4 separate regions of the Homo sapiens genome follow, and all the other regions are linked to region 1. The links are contacts of gene promoters, found by promoter capture Hi-C in human tissues and cell types (Jung and others, 2019). All regions are on one chromosome and are shown on one strand. Each heading gives the region's core, a stretch centred on a gene start or on the middle of the fragment in contact. The rest is flanking DNA. Distances are from core to core; before and after follow the strand shown. Region 1 holds the start of FCN2 (ficolin 2). Region 2 has its middle 64 kb from the start of FCN1. Region 3 has its middle 44 kb from the start of FCN1. Region 4 overlaps COL5A1 (collagen type V alpha 1 chain).

What was found. Contacts are between HindIII fragments. The study calls those that stand out against the background at their distance.
Region 2: a contact is called between a fragment that was not itself captured here and the fragment with the promoter of FCN2 in region 1, in 2 of the 25 tissues and cell types used here (mesendoderm cells and thymus).
Region 3: a fragment that was not itself captured here is called in contact with the fragment with the promoter of FCN2 in region 1 in 3 of the 25 tissues and cell types used here (lymphoblastoid cells, spleen and thymus).
Region 4: a contact is called between a fragment that was not itself captured here and the fragment with the promoter of FCN2 in region 1, in 3 of the 25 tissues and cell types used here (dorsolateral prefrontal cortex, spleen and thymus).

Annotation. Positions count from the first base shown.
Region 1 is chr9:134,879,476-134,882,290 of GRCh38, reverse strand. It overlaps FCN2 (ficolin 2), which reads right to left and starts at 1,481. Exons shown (of 8, transcript NM_004108.3): 1 at 1,370-1,481. The coding sequence starts at 1,469. The HindIII fragment of the contact is 19,799 bases long and covers 1-2,815 here.
Region 2 is chr9:134,980,125-134,982,939 of GRCh38, reverse strand. No RefSeq gene overlaps it. Among named protein-coding and RNA genes, the nearest start is that of FCN1, 64 kb to the right of the region's middle. RefSeq lists an enhancer at 1-452. The HindIII fragment of the contact is 4,934 bases long and covers 1-2,815 here.
Region 3 is chr9:134,960,091-134,962,905 of GRCh38, reverse strand. No RefSeq gene overlaps it. Among named protein-coding and RNA genes, the nearest start is that of FCN1, 44 kb to the right of the region's middle. The HindIII fragment of the contact is 9,903 bases long and covers 1-2,815 here.
Region 4 is chr9:134,801,939-134,804,753 of GRCh38, reverse strand. COL5A1 (collagen type V alpha 1 chain) reads right to left here. Exons shown (of 66, transcript NM_000093.5): 38 at 2,747-2,800; 39 at 1,759-1,866. Among named protein-coding and RNA genes, the nearest start is that of MIR3689C, 46 kb to the left of the region's middle. RefSeq lists an enhancer at 1-81. The HindIII fragment of the contact is 5,990 bases long and covers 1-2,815 here.

The DNA of each region.
Region 1 (2,815 bases), core at 232-2,731:
GATTTGGGGCAGAACCCTGGCCTTGGAGGCTACCCTGCCTGAAGGCAAACCTTACTTCCTCAGTACTGTGTGTCCTGAAACAAGTCCCTTAACCCCTCTGAGCCTCTGTTCCCTTACCTACCGAGGGGTGCAGGTTCATTTCAGCTCCTACCATTTAAGACAGCATCCTAATCTCGTCTGTTCTCATCTATCATATCATTGTAATCAATATCGGGTGAGAAGGACACAGGGAGAGAGGCTACCATTGCAACTCCCACGCCTGATCTTGGAGCAGATCTGAGAGTGGATGGGCTCCTGTGGGTCCACCTTGTTCCTCCACAGAGGGAGGCGTCCTTCAAGGACACTGAACAAGTTGGTGCGAAACTAGAGCTGGAATGCAGCTTGTTGTTTTTAATTAGATAACTCAAATTCAAGTGAGTGTGTTACAAAAATAACACGTGCTATTATTTGATCATTTAGAAACTCTAGAAGTATTTAAGGAAGAAAATAATGCCACCCTAACCCCACCACTCCACAACGAGCCACTAGGAGTTTCCAAGCGAATCCCCGCTGTTCCTGGCCTGTGTCACACTTCACGCCACGGATTGCTCCTTGAATGCGATGCTAGTCACAGCACACCGCAGAGCTCTGTGTCTCACATGCATTCCAGAAATCCTGACACGAATCTCTGCAAGCATCAGGAGCATCACAAATTCCTGACCCTGCATCCCAGCCCCGGGTAGACGGAGTCAGGACCTGACTCCAGAACCTGCATTTTCAACCTGCCCTCGCATGCGCCGGAGCCCATGGTTTGGCACCCGAGTGTCCCCTCGGGAGCCCCGAAGGAGGTCCAGAACTCACGGGGACAATGCCACCCTTATTGTGCCGCATCAGGGACACCATGGGAACTGCCATCTCCAGAGCCCAGCAGGTCCTGGATGGAAAGGTCCTGCAGTGCTCATCCCCGCCTGACACCCTGTCTTTCCGGGTGCTTATCCCCACCTCACACCCTGTCTCTCTGTGATGGCGACCATGGCAGAATATCTGACTGGTGTCTACCCAGCTGGCACCACAAGCCTCACCTCCCCACACAACACCATGACTACGCTTTTTACGCTTAGAGGGGGACATGTGGCCCAGGGAGACTGGAAACCTGCCTCGGTTTCCATTATGGGAGGGCAAGCAGAGGAAGCTCCGTCTCTGAGATGCCACATCCATTCGGGGCCTCTGCGTTTGTTCACATAAGATGAGGCATGCAGAGCTGCTGTCTCGTTAGACGATGCTCCACACGGCCTGGTGCAAGGCCTGGAAGCCAGGAAGCCACCAATCACGAAGCTGCCAGCTTTCAGGGACGAGAAGTTTCCAGGAGGAGGCCCTGGAGTGCCCTTACCTGGACAGGTGTCTGCCGCCTGGAGAGCCCAGGCCATGCCCAGGAAAGAGAGCAGCAGGGTGGCAGCGCCCAGGACCCCCACAGCTCTGTCCAGCTCCATCTCTTCTGGTCTTTGCTTCAAAAGGTGCCTGCCCTCTTATAGGGCTAGAGAAGCCAGCCTCCCTCAGACTCCAATTTCTCATCTTCCGAGTGACAGCCGCTTCCTCTCCGCGGGCTTGGTGACGCCAGCAGGAGGTGCGAGATCATCTCCAGGGCTGCTCCCTACCCCCCGCCCCTTGGGGATCCCATGGCGACTGTCATCCCTGCAGGGGGACGGTCTCCTTCCAGGGAACAGGCTGACTTGCTTGTGGCCTTGGGCAAAGAGCCCAGGCCCATCCTCCCACCTTTGTTCAGCGGTGAGCAGATGTCACCATGAGCTGAGAACGGGGAACAAGGAAGGGTTTGCTAAAGATGTTCTGCTTCAAAGAGGTCTCTCTCCCTTATCCGAATACCTAGAGTCCTCATGGCCAGGGCTGGTCATGGGCCACTGGTGTGGGCCTTACACAGTAACCCTCACCACATCATGAGCAGACTTGGGACTCTCCTCAGGAGGCTTGGAAACTGCCACTATGAGGTCCAGGCAGGCTGCCAGGGTGAAAAGGAGAGGAAAATGCGTGTGTGTCCACTGTTTCCTGGGGCAGTATGTAGAGCACAGGGGCACATGAACAGGAGGGAAAGGAGAGAAGAGTGGGGAGCCTGGGGGACTATGACCCAGGTACACATCTGAAGGGGAGACCTTGAGTGTGAATGCAGGGGCTTAGCCTGTAGGGAGGATGAGAGTAGGTGAATTTCACTCCTAGGGCCCAGGGAACCCCCTGAGCCCTGAGGCCAGACATCCCACCTGTAGGATGGCTGTGGACTTACTTCAGTGGTTGTGTTCGCCTTTTGGAGAAGAGCTGGCCTGAAGGTGCACTCTCGCCTTGGACTGAGCCAGGTTAGAGACAGAGACAGTAGCAGGTGGGGCCCCAGAGGCCGTATACCTAAAGCCCCCAGAGACGGAACCAGCACTGCACCTCCCACTACCACCACCGCACCCTGCCACCTGCTGCCATCGGGATGCCGAGGTGCCTTCTTCCTTGGCAAGATCAGTAGAAGGATTTTAAACTGTGACCCCAGCCCAGCAAAGCCACGCGAGAAACAAAATCCCATCGGATTTTCCTTCAATGCCCATGGAGATGTGTGGTCCTGAGACTATGACTAGTTAAGACCCCCCTCGGGTTCCGTGGTGTTTAGGGCAGACCTCTCAAGACTTAATTAAGGCTATGCCAGATGCAGATGAGGTCCAGGGATGAACCTGGGGAAGACACAGGCTCCATGGAGATGCAGATATGGAACCTAGAAAGATGGCTTGGGGGCATCTTCCTCAAAGTCCTGAAGTCACCTGCAGAGGAGCCAGGTCCCCAGAGC
Region 2 (2,815 bases), core at 167-2,666, 100 kb before region 1:
TGTTCATGGCTCTTTTCCAGGGGCTACAGGAGCAATACAGGCATTTAGTGGGTGTCGTGGGGTTGAACTCTGTCCCCCAGAAAGATATGGGGAAGTCCTAGTTCCCAATACCTGCAAAAGAGACCTCATTTGCAAACAGGGTCTTTCAGGTGTAGTCAGGTTGAGATGAGGTTGTACTGAGGGGGGGTGGCCTTAGGAGGGGAAGGGGGTTCCGGAGACACACGCGGAAGATGGCAGCAGAGACTGGGGTGACGCCCCACTGACCTGGATGTTGAGCTCCCGGCCTCTGGGCAGCAAGGGAAGGAATTCCTGGGGGTTGAAGGCCCCTCATTCATGGTCTTTTGCTACAACAGCCCTGGGAAAGGAACAAGGCAGGATTCGGCTGTTTGTGAGGACGCACAGTCCAAGGCACCAGCACGAGGGTGCTGGCTGCGGACGGCTATCCTGAGCCTCTCCTGGCCTAGCCAGCCTGACTCTCCAGCCACAGCCCACCCAGCCCTGATGTGCAGGATTCCTTCGTTCTGCTGTAAAGATGGGGGCACCCTTCCACTTCAGTGGAATCTTTGAGCAGCTGCCTGTCATTTAAATAATTTCTCTTAATTTTTTAAAAAAGATAAATTTAAACATTTAGATAATTTAAAAGAAAACGCAGCTCCTACTGCCCTCCTTGTATAACCACCATCCTCTCACTGTCCGTCCTCCCCGTGGAATGATCATTATCTCGCCATCCTTCCTCCCTGTATAACCATCATCGTCCTCCCGCCGTCCCTCCTCCCAGTGTAGCCATCATAACCCTCTCGCTGTCCCTCCTCTCTGTATAGCCATCATCCTCTTGCCATCCCTCCTCCCTGTATAACCATCATCCTCTCGCCGTCCCTCCTCCCTGTGTAACCATCATCTTCCTCTCGCCATCCTTCCTGCCTGTATAGCCATCATCCTGTCGCCATCCCTTCTCCCTGTATAACCATCCCTCCTCCCTGTGTAACCATCATCATCCTCTTGCCGTCCCTCCTCCCTGTGTAACCATCATCATCCTTTTGCCGTCCCTCCTCCCTGTGTAACCATCATCTTCCTCTCACCATCCCTCCTCCCTGTGTAACCATCATCATCCTCTTGCCGTCCCTCCTCCCTGTGTAACCATCATCATCCTCTTGCCGTCCCTCCTCCCTGTGTAACCATCATCTTCCTCTCACCATCCCTCCTCCCTGTATAACCATCATCTTCCTCTCACCATCCCTCCTACCTGTATAGCCATCATCATCTCGCCATCCCGCTTGTGTAACCATCATTATCCTCTAGCCATCCCTCCTCCCTGTATAAGCATCATCTTCCTCTTACGATCCCTCCTCTCTGTATAACCGTCGTCCTCTCGCTGTCGCTCCTCCCTGTGTAGCCATCATCCTCTCACCATCCCTCCTCCCTGTATAACCATCATCTTCCTCTCGCCATCCCTCCTCCCTGTGTAACCATCATCCTCTTGCCGTCCCTTCTCCCTGTATAACCATCATCCTGTCGCCATCCCACCTCCCTGTATAACCATTATTCTCTCACTGGCCCTCCTCCCTGTATAATCATCATTCTCCCTGTATAACCATCCTCCCACGGAGGGACCAGCATGGTTTGTGGTGAGCCTTTGTGGGCAGGCAACTGACTGGCACAGATTCCCTCCGTGACCCACTGCGAGCCTGGGCTGAGCCCCGTCTCAACTAGGCCTTGACCTTGGCCTTCGTGTCCATGGCTGGCTGAGTCTTGTTATACTGAGAACCCTCCCATCCTTTGCATTGGATCAGATTCCTCGCCCCTGACCATCAATGTCTAAATCCTCGGCCTGCCTTTAACAGGAACTCCTGCCCTTGGTGTCTAACCAGGTGAGTGGTTTCCAGCCCGGACCCTCACTCTGCTCGTGGGCTGGGCATCCACAGCTGTCTTCACTGCGTCTGAACTGAGCTTGGTTCTAAAGTCCTTCACTTACTCCAGTGGCTTGAATACAATCTGTCTTGCTGTTTTTCCCAAGTGAGCAATGCAGACAGGTTCTCCTACACATGGTTACTTGCTTTGGATAGTCGCTGTGAAGGAGGACTCGCTGGCTGAGAGGATGAGCGTTTTTAAGGGCTGGGTACACCTTGCTGAGTTGCTGTGCACACAGGAGAGTGTCAGCTGGCACTCCTGCTGGCAGCAAGTGCCAGGAGAGGCCCTGGCCTGGGAAGGCCCCTTTCTCCCAGGGCTGGCTCCTGGGATCTCCTAAGTCGCTGAGATTCTAGGCTCAACCTCAGCTCCTCTGCGCCGGCACCCCCACCTGCCCCCCGGCCACCCAGCTCCCACCATGTCACCTCCAGCAGAGGCTGAGAAGGTGCCTCCCCCACCTCGTTAATTATGGAGTCGGCAAATGCCCTGGATCACACAGCTGGGTTGTTTTTATTCTTCACTGGAAGGTGGAAGGTTTTGTCTGGCTCTCTCCCCAGGTGCAAGGCCTTGCGCTGGGCTGACTTCACCCCTCAGATACAGGGTCATTTCCAGATGCCGATACCTGCAGCTTTCCGGACACCGCCCCGCATCTCCAGGCAGACTGGCCTGGGCATGGAGGTTACAGCCTGGTGCCTCTAACAGGGGTTTTACCCTTGGGTCTGTGAATTTAGATGGAAAACACGTTGCAGTTTTTAAAAATAAATTTCTGATCATCCGTCATTTCTCTCGATAATGCTTATAGACGACCACAGTACATGCGACTTTGTGCACAGGGAAAACCACAGATCTTTGATCTCTCGAGGTAGCCATTGCTGCTAACTTCAAATATCCTTTTTATTCACCACGGCTT
Region 3 (2,815 bases), core at 157-2,656, 81 kb before region 1:
CGGGCGCGGTGACTCATGGCTGTAATCCCAGCACTTAGGGAGGCCGAGGTGGGTGGCTCACTTGAGGTCAGGGGTTCGAGAACAGCCTGGCCAACATGGCAAAACTCTCTCTCTACTAAAAATGCAAAAACTAGCCGGGTGTGGTGGCGTATGCCTATAATCCCAGCTACTCGGGAGGCTGAGACACAAGAATGGCTTGAACCCAGGAGGTGGAGTTTGCCGGGAGGTGGAGGTTGCTGGGGGGCGGAGGTTGCTGAGAGGTGGAGGTTGTGGTGAGCCAAGATTACACCACTGCACTCCAGCCTGGGCGACAGGCCCTGTCTCAAAGAAAACAAAAAAGAACAATGTTAAGGGGCATGTGGAGCCAGGCCAAATGCAGTCTTCTGATTTCAAGCATGCTGCCCTCTAGGACAGGCGGGCCCTAGTGTTAGGGTGGGGAACCGTGAGAGCTATGCAAAACAGGACATGCCTTACACTAGCATATGTTGATGTGGGAGATATTTTCTTCTTGGTATTTCAAATCAGCACATGCTAATAGTCACCTTTATGTTCTGAGCAAGTTACCAAAGGGTTTCTTTAAGGGCATATATTTGCTTTTGTGGTCTTTAAAAAGCCCAATTAAAGTTTATGGCTTTGGCTGGGAAAGCCAACCTCCCATTTATTATGAAGTCTGCAGGCTGGAGGCATCTGGGGCAGGAGGACTTCCTACCTTGCTGCTGCTGGCCTGAGAGTCCGCCTGATCCTCAGCCTCCTGGGAAGGGCTTGGCATCAGGAACTAACAGCACAGACAAGAAGGCATGAAACCTGTTACATTGTCCTTGCTGTCATACAAGGAACTGCAGTGAGCCAGATGTGCAATTGCTCAGACTGTAGCTGGGTGGCTGCTCCTGAGAGGCGGAGGTGCAGGGCACCTGCACTGGTGACAACACGAACGGGGCACACGCACCAAGGTCCCCACAGTGGCTCCGGGCTGTGATCGTGGTGGCGACTTCCAGCCATTCTGTCACCTCCCCTCGGAGGGTGTGTCTGTAACCCCTTGGAGGTCACAGACGTCCATTTCCTATGAAGTGCCCAGCCCATGGCTATGGGACCCCCATACAGCGGATAAGAGCTAGTGGGGTCCCTGTGGTGTGCTGAGCCAGATGACCCCAAGGCCTGCCTGCAGTGTTTGCAGTGAAGCTGGGAAGGAAAGCCTCGCACCTGAGTTGACGTTCAGTGCAAGACCCGGGTGCAAGCCTGTGGCCATGGACGGCTGCCAAGGTGGAGAGAAGGTGGGAGACAGGAGCCGAACAGCCCACGGGAGGGAGGCCTGGGGGCACTGTGGGTGAGGCAGGAGCCGAGGGGCCAGACTGGGGCAGATAATCCGGAGCAGTGGCAGAAAGAAATGCTGTGCCCTCAGACACCGGGGCCTGCTGACCCACTGGATAGAAGCACATCATGAGCTTGGCAGGAAGCCCCAGGAGAAGTCCTCGTGAGGACACTGATTTGAAATCTTTGTCAGCAGGTGCTGGTGGCAATTAGCGTTTTATTTTGGGTTGTAAATAGACAGCCATAGTCCAGGGTCCTGGCCCCAGCTCAGCCACCGGCCTCTGCACGCCCCTGGTTGCAGCTGCTCTTGGCCTCACTGTCCTCGAGAAACCAGGAGGTTGGGAGGGTTGGCTTCTAAGGCAGGCAAGCTGGAAGGTTCTCTGTGATTTTATGGTATGTGGTGACATTTGGCCAAGAAGGGGCAACTTGGCAGGGGGGTCCCAGATGCCTGGCTGAGAACCGACCTTCCGCAGGGGTTCGCTCGCCTTCCTGGAATCCGGCGGGGACTGGCTGCAGGAAGCCGGCTCCCTCCCCTCTCCCATCACACACACCAGGGAAGTGCTTCAACTCCTGGGTGGCTTGTTCCTGGCGTTGCCCGTGGGCTCGCTAGGAGAGCCATCACGTGAGCAACTGTCTGTGTCCCTTGTGGATGAGGGGTGCAAGCTGTGAGCTAGAGCCAGATGGGAGCAAAGGTCTGCAGTGCCCCCGTGGTGGGGGCCATGCCCAGGAACAGAGAGGCTAGGGCCTCCTTCCCGGCCCAGCCTCAGTCCTCTCCTCTTAGCGGTTTTGACAGAGTCCCAAGTGCACCTGCAAAGCAGACAGGCTGCCACAGTGCTGGGCGGAGAAAGGTCACCCTGCCCTTGCCTGTTCAGCATGGCTCTGCAGAAAGGGCCTAATGACTAATTAAAACCCTGCTGCCCGGGTTGGAATACTAATCTTTACAGCTTCATGGGCCTTCGTGATGCATCTCCCTGCAAACTCTGAAGAGCGAGGAGATGAGGCTGGAGGGGACGGTGTTGGTTTCCATCGGCTTCTTGTTTGTAGCCGGGGAGCGGCCCCTGTCTTCCACTTCTCAAAGTCGCTGTGAAGAAGTGAGAGTTGCTCCTTCCTGCTCTCTTTTTTCAGGGCCACAGGCAGAATGGAGCCTCCTGGAGGGTCAGGGCCTCTTTCTTCCAATTCGCTTCTCGCTTCTGCCCAAGGAAACCTCTTCAGCTGGAAGATCCCAGCTGGGACCTGGCTTGGAGGGAGATGCATTCCCTCTGAAAGGTCTGGCAGGTGGTGGGCTGTGCCCAGCTGTGCCGACCAGTGGCCCTGGGGTGGGAATGGCTTTGCCATCTGCCTTAAATTCGCCCACCTCTGGCCACCCAGCTGGCACTCAGGTCCCGCCCAAGCTAGCGTTGCGGGATGTACGTCCCTGGGGATCTAGAGAAGTGACTTTCACAGGCTACCTGTGTGTAGCGGAGTGGTGAACAGTGAAGTCTGAGACCCTCAAGGGTTGGCCTGGCTG
Region 4 (2,815 bases), core at 316-2,815, 78 kb after region 1:
ATCAGACACTCCTGGACTTGGGTTGGATTGGGCTTCTCCTGGCCACTTTTCAGAGTCGTGACTGGACTCAGCAGCCCACACGTGGGAGCACAGCCTGAGCCTCCACCTGGAAGCCACGCTCATCTGGCGGGCTCTGCGTGCAAATCTGACTCTACCCCTGCTCCACGGAGTTCCGGGGTCCTTCCTCCCAAGGCCCTTAAGGGCTACGATGGGCCATGTGGGAGCTGAGGGCACGTCTATCTTTTCCATAGATTTGGGGCTCCTTGTAAGACCGTGCTCAGACAAAGAAATCCATGGTCGAAATAGCATTAAAAGCATCGTCCTAAATGGACTTATCACTTAAGGAACTTCTTCAAGCCCGAAACCACATTTTCTGAAAAAAAGTCACCCCTTAGCCTCGACTTTCCCTGAGGTACAGTAAAGCTTTGATATCTTCCAAAATGTTCTCTGGGGTCCAACATGGAGCACAGTGCTGTTTTCAAACGAGCAGGTCAAATGCCCGTGGCCGCCTTTCCAAGCTCGGAGAGCTCTCTTTGTGTCTAGAATACACACACGTGTGCATGTACACATGTGTATTTATTCCTATATCTACATGCACACCCGGGTGTGTGATTTTTTTCAGTATTTCTTCATTTGCTTCACTTTATTATTTTTCAGGTTTACTCTTCTGTGGTCCTACAGGCTGGAGAGCTTGCCTTTGTTGCATTCCTTATTGAAGAGCTGAAAGGGAAGGGCTATTTTTGTGCTAACACAGCAAGTTATGGCCAGTGAACCTGGGGCGCCCAGGGGAGGAGATATGAAAAGGGGGCAGTTGGAGCTGGCACCAAGAGGTGGGATAAAAACACGTTTGCTTTTCACTTTTATAATTTCTCAGGCTCTTGGGGTGAGGGCTGTTTTTTTTTCTTTTTTTTGAGATGGAGTCTCGCTCTGTCGCCCAGGCTGGAGTGCAGTGGCGCGATCTCGGCTCACTGCAAGCTCCGCCCCCCGAGTTCACACCATTCTGCTGCCTCAGCCTCCCGAGTAGCTGGGACTACAGGCGCCCGCCACCACACCCAGCTAATTTTTTTGTATTTTTAGTAGAAACGGGGTTTCACTGTGTTTTTTGTTTTTTGTTTTTAAAAACAGAGTTTCATTTGTGTTAACCAGGCTGGAGTGCACTGGCACGATCTTGGCACACTGCAACCTCCGCCTCCCGGGTTCAAGCGATTCTCCTGCCTCAGCCTCCCAAGTAGGTGGGATTACAGGTGCGCACCACCACACCCAGCTAATTTCTGTATTTTTAGTACAGATGGGGTTTCGTCATGTTGGCCAGGCTGGTCTCAACTTCCTGACCTCAGGTGATCCACCTGCCTCAGCCTCCAAAAGTGCTGGGATTACAGGCGTGAGCCACTGCACCTGGCTGGGGTGAGGGGTTTTTAAAAGGACCACTTTCTGCTAAACGTGTTATGGACACATGAAGTCCCAGAGCTTTTTATCCATTTCTGGGAGCAGGGCTGGCAGCTGGGGAGAGAGCAGAGGGTGGAGGATGGTGGTGACCCCTGCGCTCCCCCTTCAAGCCCATCCCTGAGCAGGTCAGCGCGACTCCTGGAGTGAATCAAGGAAAAGTGAGCAAAACGTGCGGTCTGGGGAGTGAACCGGCATGAGAAGCGTCTGTTTGACGAATTACCCATTCATCAGAAAAGGGCAAGAAAAACACAAAGTCCCAAAATGATTCCTGAGGAAACGCCTGAGCTGACACAGAAGGCTCCAGAAACTCACCTTCGTCCCTTCTTTTCCAGCAAGGCCCGGAAGCCCCTGTTCACCGGGGGGTCCAGGGGGCCCAGGGTGGCCACGCTCACCCATTGGGCCCGTTTCTCCCGTGGGACCCTGTGGGGAAAATCAGTGTCAGCCACAGACGTTTCGAGTGACTTGCAAGGGAGTGAGAATCTCTTCCTAAATCTAAGGACAGCCCTGGTCATGGACGCAAAGGTCTGCTGCGGGCACACCAAACCTCCAAGTGCCTTTGCAAGCCTTCTCTTCCCGGCAAAAATCTAGAGGGTGGGTGTTGGTACGCTGCTCACTGCCTGGCATCTGCTGGGCCCCGCGTGGCCCTCTTCCCCCACCTGGCGCCTTCAGGAGGCACGGCCAAGCCTGCCTTCCTGGGATGTGCCCTGAGGGAGGCTGATTCAGCCACAGGACAGGCCAAGGATGGGAGAAAAGCCACACCAGGGGCAGAGCCCACATGCCCTTCAGTTCTGTGGCTGCAGCAGGTCTACGTCTTACTCACCGCTACATGAGGTGTGCGCTTTCTAGGACACAAGGTGACCCCTCCCCGTTCTGCAGCTCTAAGCCATCAATCCTGGCTCTAAGCTGCCCCTGACACTGATCTGCCACTGGTCTGCGGTTAGAATCGCAGGCCCGTGACACCCACAGGGACCAGTGGCAGGAGGACTCGGCTGCCTTGGACACCCACAGCAGGGATGAGCCCAGCTCCTGAGCTGGCCCAGGTCTGGCCCCAGCCACCCTGTGAGCCTTGGGCAGCCTTCCTTGCCCTGCGTGTTGGGTTTGTGTTGAGGGCAAACACATCTGTGCTTGCTCCTGCGTGGGGCGAGCCTCACGCTGACCAACATTCAGGACCTAAGATAACCTCTCAGCAGTACCTGCACCTCCGGAATCGTGGAGGGAACAGATGCCCGGGCTGGGACCCTCTTCCCTGTGGGCAAGTGACACCGAGTGACCCATGGAATCTGGGAAGGCTGGAGCTTACCTGAGGGCCGACCACGCCGGGGGGGCCTGGAGGGCCGGTCTTGCCTTGGAAACCCTGTGAAGAGAGAGT